Regions from separate parts of the Homo sapiens genome. Here all the other regions are linked to region 1. Evidence: promoter capture Hi-C in 16 types of primary human blood cells and fetal thymus (Javierre and others, 2016). All regions are on one chromosome and are shown on one strand. Each heading gives the region's core, a stretch centred on a gene start or on the middle of the fragment in contact. The rest is flanking DNA. Distances are from core to core; before and after follow the strand shown. Region 1 holds the start of SNHG1 (small nucleolar RNA host gene 1). Region 2 overlaps EEF1G (eukaryotic translation elongation factor 1 gamma). Region 3 has its middle 11 kb from the start of SCGB1A1. Region 4 holds the start of TUT1 (terminal uridylyl transferase 1, U6 snRNA-specific). Region 5 has its middle 4.8 kb from the start of AHNAK.

The links. Contacts are between HindIII fragments. The CHiCAGO score rates a contact against its expected background, and 5 or more counts as called.
Region 2: a contact is called between a fragment that was not itself captured here and the fragment with the promoter of SNHG1 in region 1, in 11 of 17 cell types (naive B cells, activated CD4 T cells, total B cells and 8 more). The highest score is 13.8, in naive B cells.
Region 3: a contact is called between a fragment that was not itself captured here and the fragment with the promoter of SNHG1 in region 1, in 6 of 17 cell types (naive B cells, total B cells, total CD8 T cells and 3 more). The highest score is 8.2, in naive B cells.
Region 4: a contact is called between the fragment with the promoter of TUT1 here and the fragment with the promoter of SNHG1 in region 1, in 14 of 17 cell types (naive B cells, total CD8 T cells, naive CD4 T cells and 11 more). The highest score is 14.5, in naive B cells.
Region 5: a fragment that was not itself captured here is called in contact with the fragment with the promoter of SNHG1 in region 1 in 7 of 17 cell types (activated CD4 T cells, naive B cells, total CD8 T cells and 4 more); the score reaches 7.7 in activated CD4 T cells.

The regions. Positions count from the first base shown.
Region 1 is chr11:62,854,461-62,857,160 of GRCh38, reverse strand. It overlaps SNHG1 (small nucleolar RNA host gene 1), which reads left to right and starts at 1,276. Exons shown (of 9, transcript NR_152585.1): 1 at 1,276-1,737; 2 at 1,945-2,028; 3 at 2,610-2,642. SNORD28 (small nucleolar RNA, C/D box 28) reads left to right here and starts at 2,466; the gene lies at 2,466-2,540. It overlaps SNORD27 (small nucleolar RNA, C/D box 27), which reads left to right and starts at 2,078; the gene lies at 2,078-2,149. It overlaps SNORD26 (small nucleolar RNA, C/D box 26), which reads left to right and starts at 1,795; the gene lies at 1,795-1,869. It also overlaps SNORD25 and a transcript of SLC3A2 not described here. RefSeq lists enhancers at 1-220, 221-1,194, 1,163-1,342, 1,453-1,532, 2,170-2,700 and a silencer at 1,043-1,102. The HindIII fragment of the contact is 3,291 bases long and covers 1-2,561 here.
Region 2 is chr11:62,569,953-62,572,652 of GRCh38, reverse strand. It overlaps EEF1G (eukaryotic translation elongation factor 1 gamma), which reads left to right. Exons shown (of 10, transcript NM_001404.5): 2 at 1-69; 3 at 752-815; 4 at 971-1,113; 5 at 1,545-1,688. Among named protein-coding and RNA genes, the nearest start is that of EEF1G, 2.6 kb to the left of the region's middle. The HindIII fragment of the contact is 3,344 bases long and covers 1-2,700 here.
Region 3 is chr11:62,429,033-62,431,732 of GRCh38, reverse strand. No RefSeq gene overlaps it. Among named protein-coding and RNA genes, the nearest start is that of SCGB1A1, 11 kb to the right of the region's middle. The HindIII fragment of the contact is 7,397 bases long and covers 1-2,700 here.
Region 4 is chr11:62,590,183-62,592,882 of GRCh38, reverse strand. It overlaps TUT1 (terminal uridylyl transferase 1, U6 snRNA-specific), which reads left to right and starts at 1,360. Exons shown (of 9, transcript NM_022830.3): 1 at 1,360-1,479. The coding sequence starts at 1,398. RefSeq lists enhancers at 1,209-1,438, 855-1,550. The HindIII fragment of the contact is 7,198 bases long and covers 1-2,700 here.
Region 5 is chr11:62,550,226-62,552,942 of GRCh38, reverse strand. No RefSeq gene overlaps it. Among named protein-coding and RNA genes, the nearest start is that of AHNAK, 4.8 kb to the right of the region's middle. RefSeq lists enhancers at 161-966, 967-1,772. The HindIII fragment of the contact is 2,518 bases long and covers 79-2,596 here.

The sequences.
Region 1 (2,700 bases), core at 27-2,526:
GACAGAGCAAGCCTCCGTCTTGAAAGAAAAAAATGTTTGGCCGGGCGCGGTGGCTCACGCCTGTAATCCCAGCACTTTGGGAGGCCGAGGCAGGCGGATCACCCGAGGTCAGGAGTTCAAGACCGGCCTGACCAACATGGAGAAACCCTGTCTCTACTAAAAATACAAAATTAGCCGGTCACAGTGGCGCATGCCTGTAATCCCAGCTACTCAGGAGGCTGAGGCAGGAGAATTGCTTGAACCCGGGAGGTGGAATGCAGTGAGCTGAGATCGGGCCATTGCATTCCAGCCTGGGCAACAAGAGCGAAACTCCGTCTCAAAAAAAAAAAAAAAGAAAGAAAAAAATGTTTATAAAGTGTGCTTGTACACGTAGATGTTTACCACAAACGACTGAACTAATGTTGTCCGGTCTCAGTAAAACAGTCTATAGCTGACTGCAACCATATTGATCAGGCAGGAGTTGCAGCAGGCAGCACCGCCGGAGCTCTTTAGGGTTCCCCATCAATAAAATGGGGGTTGTCATCCTACCTAGCTCTTGGGATTTTGGTGGATTAATCGATTCATATAGTGTGCTTAAAACGGTGCTCCATAAATGTTAGCTAATGTTGGCCCGTAGTAGTCCAAGATCTAAAGAAAACGCACCAGAAGGCAGGACATAGGGAACCAGTTAGGAAAAAATCAGATCCTGTCTTCAGTGAAGCACTTACGTCCTGACATACTTTCCCGAAATGGCCCCACCAAAGGGGACCTCCTCCCGAGCTTAGCCCGGGATCCAGTACCTGAGTCGTCCCCCGCGCTGAGACCCTGGACACCAGCCTCCGAATGTGAGCCAGGCAACTGGCGCGGAATCGACACGACGGCGATCGAGGCTTCAGGAGGCTGTAGCTCCATGGAGGCGGATCCTGCACACAGGTTTGGGGTGTGTGGGCAAGGGGCAGCTCAGAACAGGGTTAGAGGGTAGGCAGTCGTGACCGTCAGTCCAGGATCGCCGTGAGGCAGTGATCTCACCGCTCCTGCCACATGCACTGGGTGAGAAAACCAAGCCGCAATGCGGTCGGTGAGCCAGCACGCTCCCGTAGGACGCATGCGCGCCTTTTTCGCGCCGCAAGTTCAGGTGGCGCTTTGTCTACGCCCTCCTTCCCTGGAACTCTCTACCCACAACTCCCCGGGGTCGCATGCGGTCAACGTATGCGCGTGCGCTCGCCGTAGCCCCGCCCCCAAATCCCGTGGGCCTCTGCGGCATGGTATTTAATCGTCTCCCCGGGGAGATTCGTTCTCATTTTTCTACTGCTCGTGGTAAGTGGCTTCGTGGTCTTTATAGCTGTTACTCTTTTGTACTTTGTCTTTTTCTTTTATTTTCTTTTGAGCGATTGTGCGAACATAGCATAGCACGCACTATGCCTTCTGTGTTGTAGCTGCCTGGCCAGGGCGACTGGCGGATAAGGTCTTGTGCGTGGCCTCGAGGCTTAAAAGTAGCAGTGGGGCTTTGTGAAGGACAAAATGGCGATGGCGGGCCGTGTAGGTCCCCCTTCCTATGATGAGGACCTTTTCACAGACCTGTACTGAGCTCCGTGAGGATAAATAACTCTGAGGAGATGGGCCCTGCAAGCCTCTTGCTTAGCCGTCTGTTCAGAAAATAGCGTTTTCGAAATGCCCTGAGTTGACCTAATGTCTTATTGGGCTCCTGTCTGCAGGATTTACGCGCACGTTGGAACCGAAGAGAGCTCTGTTGTTGCAGTAAGTTCTTACGGCCATTTCTTAATCTCTGCTCTTTCGTTGAGTGTGTGGAAGTTGCTACGGGGATGATTTTACGAACTGAACTCTCTCTTTCTGATGGATTAGTGGAGAAAACAGAAAATTCTGAGTAGCACTGTACTGTACGCAACAAATGTCAGGGCCCTATTGATTTGTCTGAGGTGTTAGTGAAGGGTGTTATTTTTTCAGATGTTCAGCCCACAAGAGCTTACTGGTGAAGGAATGGGACAAGACCCATCTTTATGCAAAGCCAGCGTTACAGTAATGTTCCAGGTAGGTGTACATGGTTTATGCTCTTACAGAGGAGACCTTGTAGATAACCACTCCATGATGAACACAAAATGACAAGCATATGGCTGAACTTTCAAGTGATGTCATCTTACTACTGAGAAGTGAGAGAGAGGTCTTAAGGGGTCTTTGAATGACTATTTTTAGGTACATAAAATGCTTTCCTCTGTTGTCTACAGCATCTCATAATCTATCCTGGGGAATTCAGCTGCCTCCCAGGGTGAATACAGGTAATTATCCAAATTGGTGTATGTCATCTTTGTAAATGTTCAAGAAAACAAGTGGCCGGCGGAACAATGTTTTTTGGCGCCTTCCATCTTGTTCCTCTTGAAATGATTTTCTGGGGAGGGAGATCGCAACCCGGTACTACAGTTCTTGTAAGGGTGTGCTGTTACCCTCATCCATATATCGATCACGTTACTGTCAGATGATTTGAATTGATAAGCTGATGTTCTGTGAGGTACAAAAGTTAATAGCATGTTAGAGTTCTGATGGCAGTTGTTGTTTATGAATAAGCTTCATTCCATCCTAATACCTTAAAATAACTAATTTGCTTTCCTTTCCAGGTATTCCTGATGACAGTCTGCCTCTATCTTACAGTAAGTTGTTTTTCGAATTCTATGGGCCTATTATCTAATAGATAACTTAGCCATTTTG
Region 2 (2,700 bases), core at 126-2,625, 280 kb after region 1:
CCACCCCACTTCCATTTTGGCCAAACCAACCGCACCCCTGAATTTCTCCGCAAATTTCCTGCCGGCAAGGTGAGTTGGGAGATGGGGAGCATCCTTCGGTTCTGAGAAACCAAGGCCCTGCGATTCTGTCACTCTGGTGGTGGCCCCCATCTCTAAAAGGGAGCTTCCCATGTTGTTTTATTCAATTTCGGTGATTTTATTTTGAGATAAATACAGATTTACATGTAGTTGTGAAAAAAAATACAGAGCTATTCTGTGACTTTATAAAATTCACGAGTTTACTTTGTGGGAAAGAGAATGAGTTTTGACTAAGCATTTTCAGTGCAAATATATCAGATATCTGTTATGAGCAGAATTCTTACCCCAAGGGGTTTATAGAGATAGGTGAAGAAACATGCTAAGAATGGAGGAGATGAAGTGCTGTGTGGGTCTGGGTCACACACTAATACTTTAACTGATACAGACATTGATACAGGAGTTGCTTTTGGCCTTCTGCTTGTTTGATCCAGAGATTTCATACAAATATCCTGTAATATTCAAATCTATTGGGCTTCCTAGTTAACATTGTGAATTCAGATTGCAAAGGAGGCCAAGTTCTTGAAGTATTTATTTATGGTTCTTGAGTATCAAGAGTTTGGATAGTGAGAATCATCAGCCTTATATAAGTATTTTCAAAGCAGTTTGGCTCCTGGTATTGGTTAGGAAGAAATTTTGTGTGTTTTACCTTATCTTTTCACTGCTTTGTCCCCAGGTCCCAGCATTTGAGGGTGATGATGGATTCTGTGTGTTTGAGAGCAACGCCATTGCCTACTATGGTAATTTGCAGGGGTATATGGGAATGGGAGAATTTGGAGGTGAGGGTGTAGGAGAGGATAAGTGTGAGCGGGGGTGGATATGAAGGAATTCTCCAGGACCTGGACTGGTGTTGGCATTCCCCCAGAGTTCTGACCTTCGTGTTCTGCCTCTGCAGTGAGCAATGAGGAGCTGCGGGGAAGTACTCCAGAGGCAGCAGCCCAGGTGGTGCAGTGGGTGAGCTTTGCTGATTCCGATATAGTGCCCCCAGCCAGTACCTGGGTGTTCCCCACCTTGGGCATCATGCACCACAACAAACAGGTGAGCCTTGGAACTTTGAGAGAAGCCAGGGGCAGGGGTGGCATCAGCTCCTGGGTGTTGGGAGTAAGAAATAAAATAGGTTGAAAAAAAGATGCCAAGGATATGTAGGCAATGAGAAGACGTAATCTCTAGGGTACGAGTTTGAAGCAGTGGGCAGTTGATGGAGGAAGTGTCTGTCATGAGTGATCAGAAGAGGGATTGCTGCTGTGAAGAGATTATACCAAATGGTAAGGGGGTGGCTGGACCAGAGGACCTCTGAAGTTCATTGTTTGTAATACATTTAGAATGACCCTAGGATCTGCCTCCATTGAAAGAGAGTGAGGGTGAGCTCAGACTTCTAGGTGAAAATAGCCCTCTTAGTTCTATTAATGGGGGAGGTGAGGGAAAGGGATTGGTACCCACTGATGAGTTTTATCATGTTGAATCACTAGGCCACTGAGAATGCAAAGGAGGAAGTGAGGCGAATTCTGGGGCTGCTGGATGCTTACTTGAAGACGAGGACTTTTCTGGTGGGCGAACGAGTGACATTGGCTGACATCACAGTTGTCTGCACCCTGTTGTGGCTCTATAAGCAGGTGAAGTTTATGGAAAATCCATTTGGCAGTGGGTAGATGGGGATTAGAAACAAAGTGACGAGGTATCTAGGTTACCCTGTATTCTGCTGAGGACTTGGAAAACAGCTAGAGGTGGGTGCAGTGGCTCATGCCTGTAATCCGAGCACACTGGGGGGCCGAGGTAGGCAGATCACCTGAGGTCAGGAGTTTGAGACCAGCCTGGCCAACATGGTAAAACCCTGTCTCTACTAAAAATACAAAAAATTAGCCAGGTGTGGTGGCGCACACCTATAGCCCCAGCTACTTGGGAGGCTGAGGCACAAGAATCACTTGAATCTGGGAGGTGGAGGTTGCAGTGAGCAGCGATCGCCCCACTGCACTCCAGCCTGGGTGAGAGTGAGACTTCGTGTCAAAACAAACAAAAAACAGCCAGGAATCCCAGGACTGAGTACCATCACTTGCTTTCCATTCTCTTAAGAAGCTGGGTAATGTCTTGCCTTTAGTTTCTGTTTGGCAGCTAAGATGTTTAGTTTGTTGCCATATTTCCTGGGAAGATTGGTTATTCTTAGTTGTGAAGACAGAGGTGATGATGGTAGCTTCAGCATTAAGATCTTTTTGGAGGCAGGCCAGGCACTGTGTCTAACACCTATAATCCCAGCACTTTGGGAGGCCTAGGCGGGTGGATCACTTGAGGTCAGGAGTTCGAGACCATCCTGGCCAGCATGGCGAAACCCTGTCTCTATTAAAAATACGAAAATTAGCCGGGCGTGGTGGTAGGAGCCTGTAATCCCAGCTACTTGGGAGGCTGAGGCAGGAGAATGGCTTGAACCCAGGAGGTGGAGGTAGCAGTGAGCCAAGATCCAGCTACTGTGCTCCAGCCTGGGGGACAAGAGCGAGACTCCATCTCAAAAAAAAAAAAAAAGCTCTTTAAGCTCTTTTGGAGACAGATACAGGTTCAAGCCTTGGCTTCATTGTTTACCAATGTAGGTAAGGGGTTATATGCGGGTGAATTCCTTTAGTCCTGTTTTTTACT
Region 3 (2,700 bases), core at 50-2,549, 430 kb after region 1:
TTTCTACAATGAGTGGCAAGATAACTAAAATGTGAATCATGCCTTCATAGGACTCACATTCTAGAGAAGGCAACAGTTAGAAGCAAACATGCTATAGTAAGATAAATACATGATTTATCCCACTGTAAATACATGCCCCAGATTAGGGGCGTGGAAGCTCAGCAGCAGAAAGAGCCCCTGAACCTCAGGGCACAAAGTGCTGGGTAGGGAGAACAGGGAGAAAGAGCCCACAGACTAAGTCGTGAAAGAATCTGAAGGGGGCCAGACTTAGCAAATGAAATACAGTATGCCCGTTAAGTGTGCATTTTAGATAAATAATGAAACAATTTTTAGTATAAGCATGTCCCAAGTGAGTCATGAAGGATGGAGTTTGGTTCTTCCAGGGACTTTGGGAAGGGAAAGCATTTCAGTTAGCGGGAACTGTTTCTGCAAAAGTGTGGAAGTGTGAATGGCATGGATTTGTTGCCTGTTTCAAATGTGAACGTCTGTGCCTCGACATGAATCGACAAGCCTTACTCAGAGGGCAGTTTTATTTCCGAGCATCATCCACTGCTGCACCCTCAAAGTGAAGGGTAGGTGGGAAGCAGCAGGATTTGAGGCCACAGTGGGAAGCAGGGCCACCATCTCCAGGAGCCTTTGATGATGGGTGAGGGGTTTGGACTTTATCCAACAGGGGACCAGGAAGAGGGAAGGATTTTAAGCAAAAGCATGAACTTCCTGTTTGATTTTTGGCAATCATGGGAAGGAAGTAAGACTAAAATCTTAGAGACTATTTAGGAGGCAGATTAACGGCCCCTCAAGGATCTCCACGTCCTAATCCCCAGACCCTGTGCATGTGTTAGGTTACCTGGCAAGAGAGAATTAGGGTTGCACATGGATGAAGGTTTCTCATCAGCTGACCGTGAGAGGGGAGGTTGTTTTGGAGTATCTGATGGGCCCAGTGTAATCACAGAGATCCTTATGAATGGAAGTGGGAGGCAGAAGAGGAGATCAGTGTCGGAGAGAGAATTGCAGAGGCTGCCCTGCTGACTTTGAAGATGGGGAAGGGGCCATGAGCCAAGTAATGCGGGTGGCCTTTAGAAAATGGAAAAAACAAGGAGACAGATTCTCCCCTGGAGACTCCAGAAAGAATGCAGCCTGCCAACACCTTGGTTTTTAGCCCAGTGAAATGCATTTCAGACATCTGGCCTCCAGAACGAGAAGATCATAAATTTGTGTGTTTTTAAGTTATTAAGTCTGTGGTAAGTTGTTACAGCAGCCATAGAAACTAATGTAGAGGCTGTTTGCAATGATCCAGGTCACAGATGGTGAAGGCTTGGAATTGGCAATAGGGTCAAGAGAAGGGGATAAGGGCTGGGCACGGTGGCTCACGCCTGTAATCCCAACACTTTGGGAGGCAGAGGCTGGCAGATCATTTGAGTCCAGGAGTTTGAGACCAGCCTGGCCAACATGGCGAAAACCCGTATCTATGAAAAAAAATACAAAAATTAGCTGGGCATGGTGGTGTGCGCCTGTCATCCCAGCTACTCAGGAGGCTGAGGGAGGAGGATTGCTTGAGCCTGGGAGGCGGAGGTTGCAGTGAGCAGTGATTGCAACCTTGCACTCCAGCCTGGGTGACAGAGTGAGACCCTATCTCAAAAATAAATAAATAAAAAAAAATAAAGGGATCAATTCCATGTAAGTTGAGATGGACTCAGAGACCGACTGGACGCCTAAGGTCAGGAGGTCAGGAGATCCCCCAGCCCAGCAACCCTTTCTCCTCTCCTGATGCCCCAAGGCCTGCTCCTCCTTCCACAGCTCCCAGGGAGCCTCTGATCAAGTCTCTATCCTGTCCCAGGGCTGATTAGTACCTACTTTTGTGACAGGGGCCTAACAGGGAATTCTTTTTCATTTTTATTTTTGAGATGGAGTCTCATTCTGTCACCCAGGCTGGAGTGCAGTGGTGTGATCTCGGCTTACTGCAACCTCGGCTCACTACAACTTCCGCCTCTGCAACCTCTGCCACTGCAACTTCTGCCTCCTGGGTTCAAGTGATTCTCTTGCCTCAGCTGTAGCGGGGACTACAGGCATGCGCCATCATGCCCGGGTAATTTTTGTATTACTAGTAGAGATGGGGTTTTGCCATGTTGGCCAGGCTGGTCTCGAACTCCTGACCTCAGGTGATCCGCCTGCCTCAGCCTCCCACAGTGGCTTGAGCCACTGCACCCAGCCCTAAGAGGGAACTCTAAAGGAAGCTCTGTAGGTATCTGCCTCGTGGTTACACACACAGGGTGGCTGTGAAACCGCCTTTGCAAAAATTACAACTGAGGAAATTATGACAGTGAAAGAGATCAGACCTAACCGACTCCATCTTCCTTCTAACCTTTAAGCTGTCCTTGTTCATTCCTGGGCATAGGCCTGAACTAACTTTGGGAAGGAATTCAGTTCATGTTTTGACTCTGAAACAAAATTGATAATAGCCATTTCCCTAAAAAAAACCCCATTCTTGCCTGTGGACCAGTCTGCCTTTGCAAGACTAACAAATTAGCTACAAGATTAGAAATTTAGTTTAGCGGTCATGCAGCCTCTGGCTCCAAGAGTCTGAGCCTCCCCAGATTGCTCCTGCAGATAACATCACTATTGTAAAACCTAAGATCAGTGCTTGAGATAGTTTGCAGACCCTGCATTCGATGGATCAGCTGACACAACCCAGACTGGTAA
Region 4 (2,700 bases), core at 111-2,610, 260 kb after region 1:
CCACCTCTTACTCCCCTCTCCCTTTTGTTTAAGGAATTCTGGAAGTTGCTAGCAGCCAGGGTAACATGTATACCCCCTTGGGGGTGGTGGTGGGGTTATAGGAGGATCCCCTCACCTAGCTGTGTGGTGTATTTGGCAGACGAGAATTCTACCACTGAACCACCCTAGCACCTCTGGGTGTATGTGTACAGCCTGCTGCTTCAGGATCCTCAAGGCCAGTCTCGATGATATCCCGATCCACTGTAGCACTGTTTCCTGCCTTAAAGGTTTGGGACACTGAGATTAGATGCCTGAGCTGGGCCCATTAGAAGGAACACCTTAGGATAGAGAACAAGAAGTTCAGCCTGCTGTGTGCTCCTTGGGCACTTCCTTTAGAGATGGGAAACGGCCTCAACAGTTGTGACTTGTTCAAGGTCAAAGACCTTGGTGTCTGCCTTAGGTCCACTGCTCTTTGCGCCATTCAAAGCTGTGGGCTGATAACCACAGCACAAGCTGCTGAGCCCATCTGATAGTTCTCTCCACCTCGTTATGGTCCCTGTCCCTAGGGCATCCCCAGCTCCCCGTAGTCCCTCCCTGTCCTGAGCCTACACCTCGGCGGCGTTGGGATGAACTGACAATTATACCAGGAGGGGGTTGACAGCATTCGCCCCCTCCAGTGTCTAAACTCAGTTACTGGCACTCGGTTTTGTCTTGTCGCACTGCTCTGAGGTGCGCCAGTAGCTCTGGCGCCTCCGGCGTACACCACGCAGCCCACTACTGCGGAAGGAATGGGCCTGGCTCCAGGACCTCGTGGAGTCCGGAAGGTGCCCGGTGGTGGCAGAGCTCCCCAACCAGGGCTAGAAGCCGTCGCAGAACACCCGTTTTGCGGGAGGACAGGGGGCGGAGGGAGGGAGTAACAGCCCTGAAAAGGTTGGAAGTCCAGGGACAGCCCTGGGCTCCGTGGGGCAAAGAATTGGAAGCCGCCGATCCTCCGCCTTTATTCGTCGGGTAAATAAGGGTCGAGGGTACAGACGCACGGGTGTCTACTGCGGGGTGAAGGAGCTGCCGCAAGATGCCACCCGGCGCCGGCCTTTGTGGCTGCTGTCATGAATATTCACGATGCTTTGGGCCAATCAACGTCTGAACAGCTTAAAGCACACCAATCGGCTTACCGCATGCAGATAAGCATCGTAACGCGCCGCTTTTCCTGAAACGGGCGGGGACTGGACAGCGGCTAGAAACGGAACCCAGAGTCGAAGGAGCTTGGTTTCCGGAGGAGTGTGTCCGCGCAATTGAACGACTTTATGTCACTTCCTATCGGATCGGCGGAAGTTGCTTCCGAGCGCGTTGAGCTTTGGCGAAGTGGGTTCCGGTGGTGGCAGAGGTGCTTGTGTTTTTGTCGGTACAGGAGAGTCGCTATGGCGGCGGTGGATTCGGATGTCGAATCGCTGCCGCGTGGGGGGTTCCGCTGCTGCCTCTGCCACGTTACTACAGCCAACCGTAAGCGGTGGCTAGTGAGGGACCCGGGGGTGGTTGCGGGCTTTCGTCTTTTGATCCTGGCGAAAGTTAGGGTTATAGGTAGTCAGTCGTTCTTGTCAAGTTGATTGGTAGGGTCTCTCACCTCCGTTTTTCTCTGCAAGTCCGAGGGGATTTGGAGAGTCGGGAAAGTTCCACCACATTACACTCCTCAGTATATGAAATCTCCACAACGCAAGTTTAATTGTTTTATTACTTCTTTAACCATCATCTATTGGACATATGCTCTGTGCCTGGTATTCTGCTGATCTTTAGGGTGGGGGAGGGGGGTTCAGAGATGAAGGAGCTCACCGTCTAGAGAATGAGAAAGTTTCAATGCTTTATAGATATGTTCGGAGAACTGTGGGACCACAGAGAATTAGTAACTAAATCAGAGAAGCCCTACAGAGGACCTACTCAAAGGAGGGGATGGATGAAATAGGTGTGGCATGAATGACTAGACCATAAGGTACCAGTGAGGAAGAGACAGAAGATGGGTTTGGAAAAATAGACAAGGTTCTTGTATGACACACAAGGGGTTCACTGTAACTTCAAATTCCACTTTTTTTTTTTTTTTGAGACAAGGTCTTGCTCTGTCACCCAGGCTGCAGTGCGGTGGTGTGATCTTGGCTCACTGCAGCCTCAACCTCCCGGGCTCAAACCATACCCCTGGCTAGCCTCCCAAGTAGTTGAGTCTACAGGTGTGCACCACCATACTTGGCTAATTTCTTTTTTCTTTTTTTTTTTTTTTTGAGACAGAGTCTCACTCTGTCACCCAGGCTGGAGTGCAGTGGCACGATCTTGGCTCACTGCAAGCTCCACCTCCTGGGTTCACCCCATTCTCCTGCCTCAGCCTCCCGTGTAGCCGGGACTACAGGCACCCGCCACCACGCCCGGCTAATTTTTTGTATTTTTTAGTAGAGACGAGGTTTCACCATGTTAGTCAGGATGGTCTCGATCTCCTGACCTCGTGACCCGCCCGCCTCGGCCTCCCAAAGTGCCGGGATTACAGGCCTGAGCCACCGCGCCCGGCCTACTTGGCAAATTTTTTAGTTTTTTGTAGAGATGGGTTTTCACCATGTTGCCTAGGCTGGTCTCCAATTCCTGGCCTCAAGCGATCTTCCCATCTTGGCCTCCCAAAGTGCTGGGATTACAGGCGTGAGCCAATGTGCCCAGCCCTACTTTTGAAGTCTGGAATCACAGTGT
Region 5 (2,717 bases), core at 88-2,587, 300 kb after region 1:
GGACTGAGTGTAATTGGAGAGTTTCTGTGTATCAAAGCTCTCTGATCTAAGAAATTCAGGAACTCCTTATTTGAAGCTTGAAGTTTAAATACAGGCTGGGATTTGAATTGAGCTGGGGAAGGATGATTTTACTTGGCTTTATATTTTCGGCTAGGGTTAAGGGTTTGGGGCTTGAGAATTGCTTAGGAAATAATGTTTGGATTCCAGAATCACCAGATAGATTTGCTTTTGGGGGGTGGGGTGGACAATGACAGATTAGGAAGTGACGGAAGTGAATGGAGAAGGGCCTGTTTGGCAGGGATGCTAATCCCTGGGCTGGTGTGTGTATGGGGTGGAGGCGGGGTCTGGGAGATCCCAGATGGTGCTAAGAAGGGTTAACAGTCATTTCTTTGCTGCTGCTGCTGCTTTTTTTTTTTTTTTTTTTGAGACAGAGTTTTGCTCTTCTTGCCCATGCTGGAGTGCAATGGCGCAATCTCGGCTCACTGTAACCTCCGCCTCTCAGGTTCAAGCAATTCTTCTGCCTCAGCCTCCCGAGTAGCTGGGATTACAGGCGTGCACCACCACGTCCGGCTAATTTTGTATTTTTTGTAGAGACGGGGTTTCACCAGGTTGGTCAGGCTGGTCTCGAGCTGCTGACCTCAAGTGATCCACCCGCCTTGGCCTCCCAAAGTGCTGGGATTACAGGCGTGAGCCACCAGGCACAGCCCATTTTTCTGCTTCTAAGAATATCATGCAAAAGAACCTTCATGGGGGGAAAAGTCTGCTTCTAAAGAGACTGCAAACAGACCACACACTTCATTTGCCTTCTGGGATCAGAAACTGAGATTACCCTTTGAGCAGTCAACCTCTTTTCTTCCTTGTAACATGCTGATTTCAGAAAAGGGGACTGTGGAGAGAAGGGAGGGGAAGGGGAATCCCCTGGCCAGGGGCCTGCCCACAGAGCTCCCCTTTGTGGTTACTATGGAAACAGGCATAATAGGAACAAAATAGAGGCAGGTTGCCTGGCAACAGAAGAGCCCAAGGTTCATTACAGACGCGCGCACACACACACAAACTGACATATACACACACACGCAAAACAGGTACATATCAGGGAACCTCCCCCACTCCCCAGGGAGGCAGTGTCACTTCTGGGGAAGCTGGGGTATCCCTGTGATGACAAGTCCTAGAGCTCATCCAGCTTTGGCAGTGCGTGTGGAGCACTGTGGTACCAGCTCCCTCTGAATGGTGGTGGAGCACTAGCGGCAGGGCTGACCTCCCTCTTATAAGAGGAAAGCCTTTACTTTATATCACAGAGGAGTCTAAACCTTCGAGAAGATGGAGGTTTTCTTTGCAAAGTAGGGACCGAAAGAACTCCTTAATACTCCTTATAAAACATGGTGTGTAAAAACAAACAAAAAACAGGCCAGGTGTGGTGGCTCACGCTTGTAATCCCAGCACTTTGGGAGGCTGAGGCAAGCGGATCATGAGGTCAGGAGTTCGAGACCAGCCTGGCTAGCATGGTGAAACTCCGTCTCTACTAAAAATACAAAAATTAGCCAGGCGTGGTGGCGCGTGCCTATAATCCCAGCTACTTGGGAGGCTGAGGCAGGAGAATCGTTTGAACCCAGGAGGCAGAGGTTGCAGTGAGCCAAGATGAGCCAAGATCGTGTCACTGCACTCCAGCCTGGGCGACAGAGCTAGACTCCATCTCAAAACAACCACCACCACCACCACCACAACAACAAAACAACAAAAACACCCAAAACATAGTGTGTCGGGGGGGTGCTGGCGGGGGAGTAGCTGTGTAAATTACCTGGTAGGAAAGATAACTCCAATTCTCTGGAGGCATAGGACCTCCAAGGAATTCAAAGGACAAGGTAAAGGGGTATCGGAGCCGTTTCCGCCTGGACTGAGCTTTTTGCTGGGATTCCATCTTGCCAAGGTCTCTATTGCTTCCACCACCACCACAGTTCCCCAACCCCATATTGGACACACAATAAATGTTTGGGTAGCTGCAAGAAAGACCCACAAGTAGAGGAATTGCTCCCTGGGGGCTGAGAGCCAGAGGAAGTTGTGACAGCCTGGGATGCAGGATGCTATCTATTGTAGAAAAGGCAAGGGCTTTGGAGCCAGTTATACCTGGAGTTCATTCATTCATTTGAAACATGCTCTTGAGTGATTGCTATGTGTCAGTCAGTGCTCTAGGCATGAGGGGCCAGGGTGCGGTGGCTCACACCTATAATCCCAGCACTTTGGGAGGCTGAGGTGGGAGGATTGCTCAAGCCCAGGAGTTCAAGACCAGCCTGGGCAACATAGTGAGACCCTATCTCTACCAAAAAAAAAAAAAAAAATTAGCTGAGCATGATGGTGTGTGTCTGTAGTCCCAGCTACTTGGGAGACTAAGGTGGGAGGATCACTTGAGCTTGAGAGGTTGAGGCTGCAGTGAGCCATGAATGCTCCACTGCACTCCATCCTGGGCGACAGAGTGAGACTGTCTCAAAAAAAAACAAGCAAAAAACCAAAACAAAACAAAAAATCAGTTAATCTAGGCACAAAGCATACAGCAGAGAAGAAAGAACCCTGTCCTCATGAGGCTTAAATGCTAGCGGAAGCTTTGACTCTTGCCTCTGTGAGTTGTGTGATTTTAGGTAAATCACGAACCCTTTCTGAGACCATTCCTCACTAAGTGCCTCCCTCCCAGGGTGTGCAAGGATTAAATGAGCTGACAGATGAAA